2 separate regions of the Homo sapiens genome follow, and region 1 is linked to region 2. The links are contacts of gene promoters, found by promoter capture Hi-C in blood cells and fetal thymus (Javierre and others, 2016). All regions are on one chromosome and are shown on one strand. Each heading gives the region's core, a stretch centred on a gene start or on the middle of the fragment in contact. The rest is flanking DNA. Distances are from core to core; before and after follow the strand shown. Region 1 overlaps LOC107985242 (a long non-coding RNA gene). Region 2 holds the start of GLRX2 (glutaredoxin 2).

Region 1 (6,596 bases), core at 2,814-5,313, 1.2 Mb after region 2:
CAAAACCTATTCTTTATTCTTATCTTTGGCACAGAATTGATTGTCAGTAAACATGTATTTGAAAAAAAAAAAAAAAGACATTTATTGGATAAGTTCCTGTTGTTTCCCTTTGCTTCCCTGATAGTATAAGAATTTCAGCTTTATAAACCCTGCTTTTATTTTAAGAAGAAAACAAATTTGACATTCTCTCCATGAAGCATGTGTAGTCTCTAACCTTCTGTTCTGAAAAGTTTAGTTAATAGAGTACATTGTATGTTCCAAGCACTACGTGTTTGATAACTTAATAAGTTCTGGTACTGACATTTGAAGGCCTTGCAGTTTAGTGTAAATTTTATTGTATTCACAGTCAAAATCACAACATCAATTTGATGTTCAAATGTTTTATTACTTCCTAAATGATTATTTTTGTACAATTAGATTTGAAGCTTCGTGAGAAAAATAAAATTATCTTTTGCTACTTCACAGATCAGTAATAATTTTTGATTCATCTCTTAAATTTCTAGTGAAATCCAGATAATAGGTCAAAACTCCAGATGAATCATCCTTGGTCTTCTGATTTCTTTCTCATCACACATTCTGTCTATTACAAAATTATTTTGGCTTTGCCTTCAAAATATGTCTAGAATCTGACCAGTTTTCTTTACTTCCACTGCTACAGTAGTTTAAACCACCAACATCTCGCACCTAAAATACTAGAGGAACCTTCAAAAAGGTCTCCTTTATTCTGCATTTTCACCTCACAAACCATTCCCAATATCACATCCAGAGTAATCTTGTTAAAATGTAAAGGAGGGAGGTCAAACCTCTGCTTAGAGCATTACAATGGTTCCTAATTTCACTTATAGCCTAAAATCTTCATAGTCACTTTCAACACTCTTTATTACCTAAAATACCCCTCCTTCTTTCCCCTCTTCTTAACTTTAATTCTAACTATTTTTTCCCTCATCCACTCCATCCACATTGACCCCTTGCTAATGTAAAACATATGAAGACAATAGGTATTTGCTTTACCTGCTATCTCCACTACACAATGCAAATGCCCGCCCCACCCCACCCCACACTCTCAATTTCCCTTATTTTGTACTAGTTTTTCTTTTCATGGGCCTTATAAGCTTCTTACTGGTATCTTATTGGTACTTATCTTGGTTCATTGGTATTTCTCATTAAAATGTAAGCTCTACAAAGCAGAAGTCTTTATACATTTATATTGTATATTTTTACAGAGATTTCTGCAGATAGATCTGTGATTAGAATAGAGCTTGGCAAATATTAGGTTATCATTAAGTTATTTTAATATGAATAATTAATAAATGAATGAAAAAGTGAGTGATTCTGAAAAGCAAAGTCCCAGAGTTATATATATTTAAACAATGTAGATATTTGAATTTTCAATCAGAAATCACAATAATCCTTACAATTTATTTTATTTTATTTTATTTTATTTTCGAGACAGAGTTTCGTTCTTGTTGCCTAGGCTGGAGCGCAATGGCGCCATCTTGGCTCACTGCAACTTCTGCCTTCTGGGTTCAAATGATTCTCCTGCCTCAGCCTCCTGAAAAGCTGGGATTACAGGCATGCACCACCACACCCAGCTAATTTTTTTGTATTTTTCGTAGGGACGGCATTTCTCCATGTTGGTCAGGCTAGTCTCGAACTCCCAACCTCAGGTGATTCACCCGCCTTGGCCTCCCAAAATGCTGGGATTACAAGCATGAGCCACCGTGCCGGACCAATCCTTACAACTTTAAGGATGTTTTTCATTCCTACATATTATTGAATTTATGTACCAGTTTAATGACAGAAGTAATTTTTTTTTTTTTTTTTTGAGATACAGTCTTGCTTTATTTCCCAGTCTGAAGTGCAGTGGCATGATCGTAGCTCACTGCAACTTCTGACTCCTGGGTTCAATTAACTCTCCTGGCCTCAGCCTCTGGAGTAGCTGGTACTACAGGTGTGCACCACTGCATCTGGCTGAGTTTTTGGTTTTTTGAAATTTTTGTGGAGACAGGGTCTTGCCATGTTGCCCAGGCTAGTCTCAAACTCCTGGCCTCAAGTGATACTCCCACCTCAGCCTCCCAAACTGCTGGGATTACAGATGGGAGCCACTGTGCTCATCCAGAAGTAATTTTTGAACTAAAACATGGCAGATCATTCCTGATTTGCCTTGAGAATTGCAAGACCTCTCCTCATAAAATATATGAGAATGGGAAAATAGCCACAATATGCCATTATGTACAGACAAATCCAAGAAGGAATTTATTCAGAGACCCAGAAACATGGAAAGTAGGTTGATTATACGGGGATAGATTTCAATACAGAACATGAAAAAAGACTTGAGAAAAACACAAGAATCTATGTGGGAAGTCGAATATCATTCCTAATAATGCAATTTTTTAATTATTAAGTATCCAGAGTTGCAGTTACCCAATCCCAGTGTACTAGATAAATGGGAACTCAGAAATAGTGACAAAAGCAGGAAGAAAATCATAGTAATTGGGAAGAATAGGCTAGGAGTTGGATGTGTAAATCGCATTTCCTGACTGAGCACTGTGCAACGTGGCCATGCCACAGTAGAGGTGCAAAATGGTGGCTGCTCATTTGGCCTCTTCCCACTCCAACAGCATTCTTTTTTTATAGTGTCTATTTTGAATCATGTAGTTTTCATAACCTATACCCTGATATTAATTTAATGATATAAAATAATGCAAATTATTTTATAATTGCTCTATGATGCATTTCTTTACAAAAGACAGTGGATTTGTAAAGACATCCATTTTTATATCCTGTTGTCTTCACAAACCCACTCATGGCTACTGGTCAACATATCAATTAAAACCCTATAGGAAGAGCCAATAATTATGTTTACTTATATTCAGGGCAATGAAAATGTCAGCACATTCAGCATCCTTATACGATTACAACCTTCTGTATACTTCAGAACACATATGACAGGTAATTTAATATCTGGCATAGTGGAAAATTCCAGCAAATCTAACAACTCCCTAATGGCATCTTGCCACAGATGTTTAATAGGGGAAGAGAATGTATCAAATCTGTATTCCTATTTAAGTCCTAGAGAAATGAGCTTGTTTATTTATAGCAAAACAATGCTTTTACAGTAGCACTTAAAATATATTGCCTGTCAGTTTTAATATTTATTATGACATAAGTGACTGATAGAAACAGGAAGAAATAATATTTTAAAGACAGAAAGATACAGCTTTGTTGAATTCTTTCTGAGACTCAGGTTAAGAAAGCTGTAAGTGACAGCTACTTTGAAGGAAGAATATTACTTACTAGAATTTCAAATAATGAAAATAATAAAACAGATAAAAGAAAAGAAAACTATTATTTTCTTTCAGACTATAAATTTCCACTTCTATGTAGACGACAAATCACTCATCGCTCTCTAGCATGTATGCAAACAGATAGATTAAAAGCTAAGTAACCAAAGAAATGGAAAGATCAACTTTCTTGTGACAGAACATCCAAAAATGTCAAGAGGTAACTTTGGGAAAAGAGATTACAAGAGAAGACTGAGCACATTTCATTTCCTCCCTCCTTTCTTGAAGGAGATAATCAGTCATGAATATCATCGCTTTTTTTTTTCCATTTTCTCCTTTTACAATTTTGAGTTGATTTTGCCCTTTGAAATCACTTTCTCTAACCTCTCCAGTAAAAACCAATACCTGAACTAAAATAAAATAAAAAACTTAAAACAAACATTTATATTTAAATCCTTTTTAGTCCAAATTTGGGAAGAAGAGAAATAGCATAAAATAATGGCTTGTTACAGATGTATTTTTCTATTATTATTATTTTTTAAATTTATAACTTTTATTAACAAAACAAACTGAGGAGAAGGGCCAAAGAACACTGGTTTTGGAAGTTGGATGAATAAGTAAGTGATAGAAACAGGGTTAAAATATCAGTAAACATAATTTTCCCATGGGTAACTTCATAAATGACTAAGTAAGAACTGATTAAGTATTTTGGTTTGCATTGTTAAAGATTATGAAACTCAAAAAATTTACAAGCCTCTTGAAAATCTTAAACATACAATATTTAAAAATATGCAGCTGGTTCTTGGGGAAATATAGAAGTGTCATATAAATGCTCATTACAACATATTTCAAATTATAATAATGCTGATATTTCTAACAAAACACAAGAGCCCTTGTGACCTGCTTCTATCCAAGTGTATCTTTAATCTCACTTACCTTTTTTATGTATGCAAGTGGTACGATGGAGATGTAGGGCTTCATGAGAGAGACAATGCATGCAGGAATGCACCTGCATTGCCCCTGTTATGCAGCTAGCAGATGGAAATGTGGTTAAGAACTTCCTCTTATACCAGAATGTTTGCTCAGAAGGGACTGTCCCAACTTAGGCGCAGGTGTAATAAATCAACTAAATGTCCTTAACTTGACTCAAGCTCATTATAATATCATTAGCATGACATCTGCATTGTGGTTTCACCACCACCACCCCTACTACCCACTGGGCCTTTCTGTGGTGCTTATGCATAATAATTAAGATGGAATAACTATGGACAAGAACGCACCTGGGCAGTAAGAACTGGGACCAGGAAGCAACTAGGAAGTAAAAGGTTGTGCAAGATGCAAATGAGAAACACACCCCTAGAAATGAGGTTTTTAATCCCCTAGGGCAACCCACTTTTGAGTCCCCTCTCCTTACTGAGCGCTTTCTGTCACTTAATAAAGTCTATTCTGCCATACTCACCCTCCTATGTCCATGTACCTCATTCATCGTGGTGGTGAGACAAGAACTCAGACCTCGCTAAGCTAAGGAGTAAGGCTTCTGCAACAGAACAAGCCAGAATTTCCTACATGAAATATTTATTTTCACATCTTTGTGATGTTCTGACAGTGTGCTGAAGGAAAATGACTTTTTTCCATTCTTTATTTTAAAATTTTGTATTTATTATTAAAGACTCATATTAAGTATTTCCTTTAAACTCCTTTCCTGGATCTCTGATATGAGTTGAATTTACCTCATTTACGATGGCAACCTAAACATACCATTATATCATCACTTAGTGTACTGTATAAAAATCTGTTTTCTATGGGTTACCTCTTCTACTAGGCTATAAGATCCCTATTTTGATTAACCTGGCTTTACTTACCTCTGTCTTTCAGTGTCTAGAATGTGCTAAAAATTTTTATCATAACATAATGAGGTCATTCTTAGTACTAGACAATTGGTAATAGGGTCCAGCCCCCTTGGTACCCATGGAATTAGCAGTTAACTTTTTGGCTCCCACAAGTAATGAGATTTATTGTACACCATCATCAAAATAATAAGTCTTAAAAAGGAGTATATCCTGCAGATGTAGAAACTTTACTACACATTATAACTACATCTTTTTGCCTCTGTTTATTCTGAAAGAAAAGCAATTTAACCTGATGTTTTAACGTCATGTGGTGCATACTATATAATATTAAAGCATGTAAATGGGGTGGTGGTGATCAATGCCTTGATAAACTTAGTTAGTGGTTTTCTTTCAACAGGCAAACCTCTAGGCTTAGTGTAAAGACGTTCTATGATATTTGTTCTAACCAGGACTAAGTCACTCCTTGTATTAGTAAGAAAATACTGTGGAAGACTAGAAACAAGGTGGTGGGGGTAGGGGTAAAAAGAAGAAGAGAAGGGGCGAGGATGAGAGGGAAGGAAGGGGAGAGGAAGAGAGGAGTAAGTGGAAGAGAGAGAGAGGAGAAATAAAGACACAGAAATAAAAAGAAAGGGAAATAGAAAAGATGCTTTCTTCTTCCTTCCTTGCTTGCTTGATTGCTATCTTGCTTGCTTTCTTTCTTTCTCTCTTTCTTTCTTTTTCTTTCTTCTTTTTCTTTTTTCTTTCAATGAAAATGTGTCATAGGAACAAATGTGGTGTTCCCTCTGAGACAACTACACTCCCAGGTGCCTCTTCCAACACATTTTCGTTCTCTTTTTATCATGGCATAGACAATTGTCAGCACTGCTGAAAACTAAATACAGAAAAAGTTGGTTGAGGTTATACTATTCCTTTCATGCTACAATGATGTAACATCATTAAGATCAAAGGGAATTGTTAACTTTCCTCTAATAATAAAAAACACACAAAAATACTGAAACCTTGGATAGGCTTACGAACATTTTAAAAGGCAGAATAACTTTCCCTTACTCAGGATAAATTTTGCCTCTTATCTCTAAATATTATCCTACTGTTTGACAAGAAATAAAAAAATTACTAAATCTTTCACATCCCATATTTTACTGCTGTCTATATTTTACATTTGATATAAACATTTTACAGCAGGTATTGTACACTGAAATTTGGATTCATTTATCTCATAAAAAGGAATACAAATGATGGATTGAAACACCCTGGTATCTAAAATTCTAAAAACATTAATATTTTTACTGAAAGTTATAGATTATATTAACACCAGGGTATAGTCAGTGAAAATACTCCCTACAGTTTAGTGTCAATAGTCTGAACAGCAGTCAGTTTTCCATAAAACATGAAAGCCAACAAATTCTGTTATTGGGTAACAAGCTGATCTAAGCCTAATCTATAGTTATTTACTTGAATGGTA
Region 2 (6,178 bases), core at 2,937-5,436:
TGTAGTTTATTAAGCATTAAGGATAATTTATCACGAGTTTTATTTGAAAAAAATCAATCTCATAAACAAATATAGCCAAACTTACAAAATAGAAAAAAATTTTACTTATTATCAGTACAAAATGTCAATATACAAAGTATTTGTTTCACTAAAACCAAAAAGGCCTGTGTGCTTATGTAACTAGCTTCCCAACACCCTTAATTATTTGATAAAATCATATTTACTGTGTTTAAAGCTTGACACACTCTTATTTATAACTGGCAAATTTCAAATATTCCATCCTATGCCATATGACCTGACCATTGGTTTAAAAATATAGTTTCTATTTTCTTAGTAAAACATGCCAAAACTCTATGAACACACTGTGAAGCAGGGAATCTTCAAAGATTTTTGAGGAAGCTACAGTATCTCAACCGCAATGGGCCATAGCTCCAAATTTCCTAGTCTGCAAAGTGGAAACAATAATCACTGGCACGTCTCAAAGGATTTTGTGAAGATTAAATGAATTCATACGCAGAAAGCAGATAAGTGCCTTCCACATAGTAAATGCTCAATAATGTTTAACATTACTACTATTAGTTCCTGAATACAGGACCTCTCATTATCTCAGTATTTATTATCCAAAACCTAGCTATTGGGAGCTTGTAAAAGGAAGCATTCATTGTCAGGAAAATTATCACTAAAAAAAAAAACTCAACCAGTTTATCATCATCAAATCTTTTTATCCCTGGAACCTTTTCTTCCCCATCCACTCATCTTTCTTGGTCAACCAGGCCCTACCGCACTGTTGGAACAATATCAAACACCATGATGCAAACTAACTGCAGAGTAAAATTACAAATCTTACAAGAGGATTATGACATATAATAGATGTTTCAAAAGAGAATTACTCGAATATCTAAAGAATAAGAGAATTTTTGAAACTTCAAATATTTAAAAAACTATTATCCTTGTGATTATGTTATAAAACTCAAATATTCTGCCTTCAAATCAATACTGTATTCATTCATTGGGGGTGCATTTAAAATTTAAATGTTCTTAAATGTAAACATAAAGCTACTTTTTATGTTTTGTTTAATTTTTGCAATAGTCCCAAGCAGAATTTTTTAAACTGGATAGCATGAAATATTAGTCTTCTTTTTGAGATGGAGTCTTGCTCTGTCACCGAGCCTGGAGTGCAGTGGCGTGATCTTGGCTCACTGCAATCTCCGCTTCCCAGGTTCAAACAATTCTCCTGCCTCAGACTCCCGAGTCACTGACACTACAGGTATGTACCACCACACCTGGCTAATTTTTTGTATTTTTAGTAGAGATGGGGTTTCACCATGTTGACCATGCTGGTCTCGAACTCCTGACCTCATATGATCAACCTACCTCGGCCTCCCAAAGTGCTGGGATTACAGGTGTAAGCCACCGCGCCTGGCCTGAAATACTAGTCTTATTTTAAGTGAATCCACTCTAATAGCTTTTTCCAGTACATCTTATCCTTGGATAATGAACATCTGCCCTACACAGTAGTCCCCCTTTATCCACGGTTTCAGTTATCCAAGGTCAGCTGTGGTCCAAAAACATTACATGGAAAATTTCAGAAGAAAATAGTTCGTAAGTTTTAAGTAGCATGATGAAATCTTGAGCCATCTAGCTTCCTCCTACCCAGGGTATGAATCCTCCCTTTGTCCAGCATATGGACTCTGTATAAGCTCCCCACGCTTTAGTCAACAGCTGTCTTGGTGACCAGATCGACTGTCACAGTGTGGTGATGCTTGTGTTCAAGTAACCCTTATTTTACTTAATAATGGCTCCAACAAGAGTGAAACTCCGTCTTAAATAATAATAATAATAATGGCTCCAAACCACTAGAGTAGTGATGCTGGCAATTCAGGTACGTCAAAGAGAAGCCCTAAAGTGCTTCCTTTAAGTGAAACGGTGAAAGTTCTCCACCTAATAGGAAAAAAAAAATCACACGCTGAGGTTGCTAAGGTCTATGGTAAGAACGGATCTTCTATCAGTGCAGTTGTAAAGAAGTAAAAAATTCATGGCAGTTTTGATGTCACACCTCAAACTGCAAGTTACAGCCACAAGGTATAAGTGCTTAGTTAAGCCAGAAAAGGTATTAAATTTGTGGAGACAAGAACAGAAAAAGTGTTCCAACTGACAGCAATGTGTTATGCCAAAAAGCACTGGGCCTATGAGAAGATTCAGCAAGGGATTCCTTGAAATGAGCATTTTGTTATTAAAGTGATTGTTCTTTTATTATTGTTGTTAATCTCTTACTCTGCCTAATTTATAAATTAAACTTTATCATAGGCAAGTATGTATAGGAAAATAGCATGTATAGGGTTCAGTACTATCCGAGGTTTTAGGCATCCACCGAGGGTCTTGGAACGTGTCCACCACGGATAAGGGGGAACGATTATGATATCAGCTCACCTAGAGTGAGGAAGCTACAGCAAACATCAGTTTGTTCAGTTATAACAAAGAAGAGTAAGAGACAGGAATTAAACATTATAACATTATAACCTACCCAATGTTTACAATCTATTATTCCTTGCTTCCTAATAGTATTAGCAAGGAACACTTTAAAACAAAAAAAAAAGTCCTGTGCGCTTAACTCAGGAAGGAGTTAAGGGTAGCGAGCTAGGGAGACTGCAGCCAACCTGAGAGGAGGGTGAAGCTTTAAGATAAAAGAAAGTTGAGTTCCTGAAGCCTAAACCAGAAAAGGTTAGGCAGCACTGGCCTAGCCCTAAGGAAGAGCATTGGTGGAATAAATCAGCAAGCTGTATTTGGTTTATCAACTAAGAAAGCAAGTCCTTTCATCTCAGGTCCAGCACTTAAACTGTCATACCCAAACCATCTACTACAGCATTTACTACTGAAGGAGCTCCAATAGAACACAAGAGAATGTTTTCTTGGGTAGTGAGAGGAGGTAGGAGGTGCATTCTGAAATATTACCCAAATAAAAGTTTCTGGAAGACACCCTTTCCCTTCAATTTCTAGTTGACCTTGGTAAAAACTGTCGCGAACTATGAATAGAAACATGCACGGAGGAAGTAAGTGCACAATAAACATTTCATTTCAACACAGATGAAGCACCTAGTCATGCCACATTTATGGAGCGCCTACTGTGTGCTAAGTAGGCAAAGTGCTATATTGACCCCAGGGATACGCAGAAAAAAACACGGCGGGGCCTCAAAGAGCTGTCAAACACTTAACAGCCTGTGATTAGCCCTTCAGGAGGGGTCTCTAGCTTGGTCTGGAAAGTTAAACTTGAGATTCCTAGAATCTTGCAAAACTGATAGAAGCTCCCAGATCAAGTAGATAGCGAGACAGACTCTCCGGCCAAGTGCGCAGTGGCAGGCGCGGAAGTGCGAGCCGGCAGGACCGCCAGGCACCAGCCGCGCGGGCGTGGGCAGCACAGCCGCAGTTCCCTTCCACTGCAGGTCCCGAAGCCGCTGATATTCCAAACGAGGAAGTGTAAGGAAAGCACTATCCTCGGTCTAGCCGCAGGCGGCATCACCATCAGTCAGCCTCTATCCTAAAAGCTCTGGCCATTCAGCGGGAATCATCGCCTTCACTTCCTGCAGTAGGGTGGCTAAGTTTAGCAAACAAGAATGCAGGACGCCCGGTCAAATTAGAATTGTAACCAAACACCAGAAAACTGTTCCGTTTTTCCTATGTCCACTGCAGTATTTGGGACACACTTGGACTAAGAATCATTCGCTCTTTCAGAGAAATTCCAATTGATTGCGGCGTCTTGTATTTTATGTAGCAATTCACAGAGGGATGGCCTAAGTGAACATGAGTGAAGTATTTTCAACGCGAGAGTCACAGGCTCCTGAAGTCAGCACAGCCGCGGAGGGCACCCTTCCCTGCCCATCCCTCGAGCGCCTCTGCGTGTTATGACTCAGAGCCCACGCGCTAGTACGCCTCGCCCACCCGGCGCCGGGGCAAAGGGGCACCTCCGCCCACCGCTTTCTCCAGACCCCCGCAAGGCCTGCGCACCACGCCGCGGCACTCCTGCCCGCTGACCCCGTACCCAGAGGCCGCAGCTGCCGCAGCTCCCGCAGCTCCCGCCGCCCTGTCAAGCCAGCCTGCCGAGCCGCTCCTGCTCCAAACCAGCCGCGTCCCCGCCAGCGCCGCGCGGCGCCAAATCATGGTCAGAGCCCGGATCTGCAGCGAGCTCTACTGCCGGACACCGCGGATCCCGGGAGCCCGCCTCCTCCGGCCCGGCCCCCGCCTTGCCCCGCCCCGTCCCGCCCCTCCGGACTGCCCGCGCCGCCGCCGGTCACCTCCTCGCAGCTGAGCGCGTCCTCCCAGGGCTGCCCGAGCGCTGGATTCCAGCGAGTGCCACCCACGTGTAAACATCCTTTAGAGGGGAGAAGCGGCTCACTTGCTTATCTCGAGGGTTCATCCGAGCCCCGCCTCTGGATTCTTTTAGGTTTAGGGACGCTCATAAAGGCTCCCAGGCACTTGGAAGCAGTGCATGAGGATGGTGGCAGACATGCTGGGGAAACGGAGGAGAAAAAACATGACCATCCAAAACAGAATCAAAGTGGTGCCTCAGATGTTTCCAACTACCTGTTACACAAGTTTTTGTGTGGATGAAATAAGAGCCTAAATATATCCTCTTATAATTAGGCAATTGGTCGAGACCCAATGTAAATTATGGGGATATTGGGGTTTACATCCATAATTAAAAGAAAAAATCCGGTGTTGAAGGTTTACTCCAAAGAAGACAAAGATTATTTCCCACCACCTGCCAAAAAAAAAAAATTAGGAAACAAAACAAAAGAAATTAGCACAGAGATGTTTCACCATGGCTTTGGAAATGGGCGATTGCTGTTGACAGGATTATTTAAGCCACTCAGTGGTGGTAATAATAGCCTTTGTGCGTCACTATTTAAGGTTGGGGGTAAGCCTTTATTTACTGAGGACACTGAAATTCATCTTAAAGTCAAAGGTCAAATGGTACATCTAAAATTCTAAACAATTATTACAACAATCCAGAGCTTTTTTGATTCTTCATGTTCAACTAAGTGTAAAATTCATGTTACCAAAGTACAAAATAAGAACTTGTATTTCTGACAGTTCTTTTCCAACATTCAAATGGGCTATGTTTGATTACTTAATAAAAGGATGGAAGTTAGTTGCAAAAATAAATACCCCCAAAGGGTAGGAATTCATTCTTTTTAAAGACAAATTTGACTTTGAAAATTAAGGCATGTGGCCAGGCGCGATGGCCTGTCCTGTAATGTGGCCATTACAGGACTGCCCGCTGACCCCGTACCCAGAGGCCGCAGCTGCCGCAGCTCCCGCAGTGGCCAGTCCTGTAATCCCAGCACTTTAGGAAGCCGAGGCGGGCGGGTCACCTGAGGTTGGGGGTTCAAGACCAGCCCCTCCAATATTGGTGAAACGCCGTCTCTACTAAAAATACAAAATTAGCCGGGCGTGGTGGCGCATGCCCGTAATCCCAGCTACTCGGGAGGCTGAGGCAGGAGAATCGCTTGAATCCATGAGGCAGAGTTTGCAGTGAGCCAAGATCACACGATTGCACTCCAGCCTGGGCAACAAGAGCAAAACTCCGTCTCATAAAAAAATAAATAAATAAAATAAAATAAAAATTAAGGTATGTTATCTATCTATAGTGTTGTGGGCTTTTTAATTTTTTTATAAAACTATTTTGGAAATTTATGGTGTTATGTTAGTTTTGAAGTCAAATTTTACCTCATCTCAAATTGTTTTATGAAATAAAGATCATTATGAGGTGAACCGATCATGTTACAATTTAATTTTAATACAGCATAGATGGACTATTATCAAGCACAGAATTCACTGGACAGATTTTTTTAAGGATTTCAGAATGTAAAGTACTTCAGAAGAAAGTGTTATGCCTGAATTCAGCATAATATATTAATAAATATATTGATAATTTTCAACTTCTTTGTGCTTCGTGGGGTAGCTACAGAAGTGATTATTATTTTTGGTCATAGTTGTGATGACTGCAATAGCAAGTTAAGAAATATGTCAGCAGACAGTAGAACGGTGGTTGCCAGGGCCTGGGAGAAGGTGGAAATGGGGAGATGTTGGTCAAAGGGTACAGAGTTTCAATTATGCGAGATAGGTAAGTTCTAGAGAGCTAAAGTACAGCAATGTGACTATAGTTAGGAAAATCGCAATG

What was found. The method cuts DNA at HindIII sites, captures the fragments that hold promoters and counts their contacts. A CHiCAGO score of 5 or more calls a contact.
Region 1: a fragment that was not itself captured here is called in contact with the fragment with the promoter of GLRX2 in region 2 in 6 of 17 cell types (activated CD4 T cells, total CD4 T cells, naive CD8 T cells and 3 more); the score reaches 11.0 in activated CD4 T cells.

Annotation. Positions count from the first base shown.
Region 1 is chr1:194,285,376-194,291,971 of GRCh38, forward strand. The region is part of intron 2 of LOC107985242 (a long non-coding RNA gene); the gene reads right to left. It overlaps LOC105371670 (a long non-coding RNA gene), which reads right to left. Exons shown (of 3, transcript XR_922390.2): 3 at 5,864-6,005. Among named protein-coding and RNA genes, the nearest start is that of LINC01031, 980 kb to the left of the region's middle. RefSeq lists a silencer at 4,191-4,391. The HindIII fragment of the contact is 5,907 bases long and covers 1,111-6,596 here.
Region 2 is chr1:193,101,228-193,107,405 of GRCh38, forward strand. It overlaps GLRX2 (glutaredoxin 2), which reads right to left and starts at 4,187. Exons shown (of 4, transcript NM_197962.3): 1 at 4,037-4,187. The coding sequence starts at 4,155. RefSeq lists silencers at 3,976-4,075, 4,052-4,346, 4,126-4,365. The HindIII fragment of the contact is 5,966 bases long and covers 2,673-6,178 here.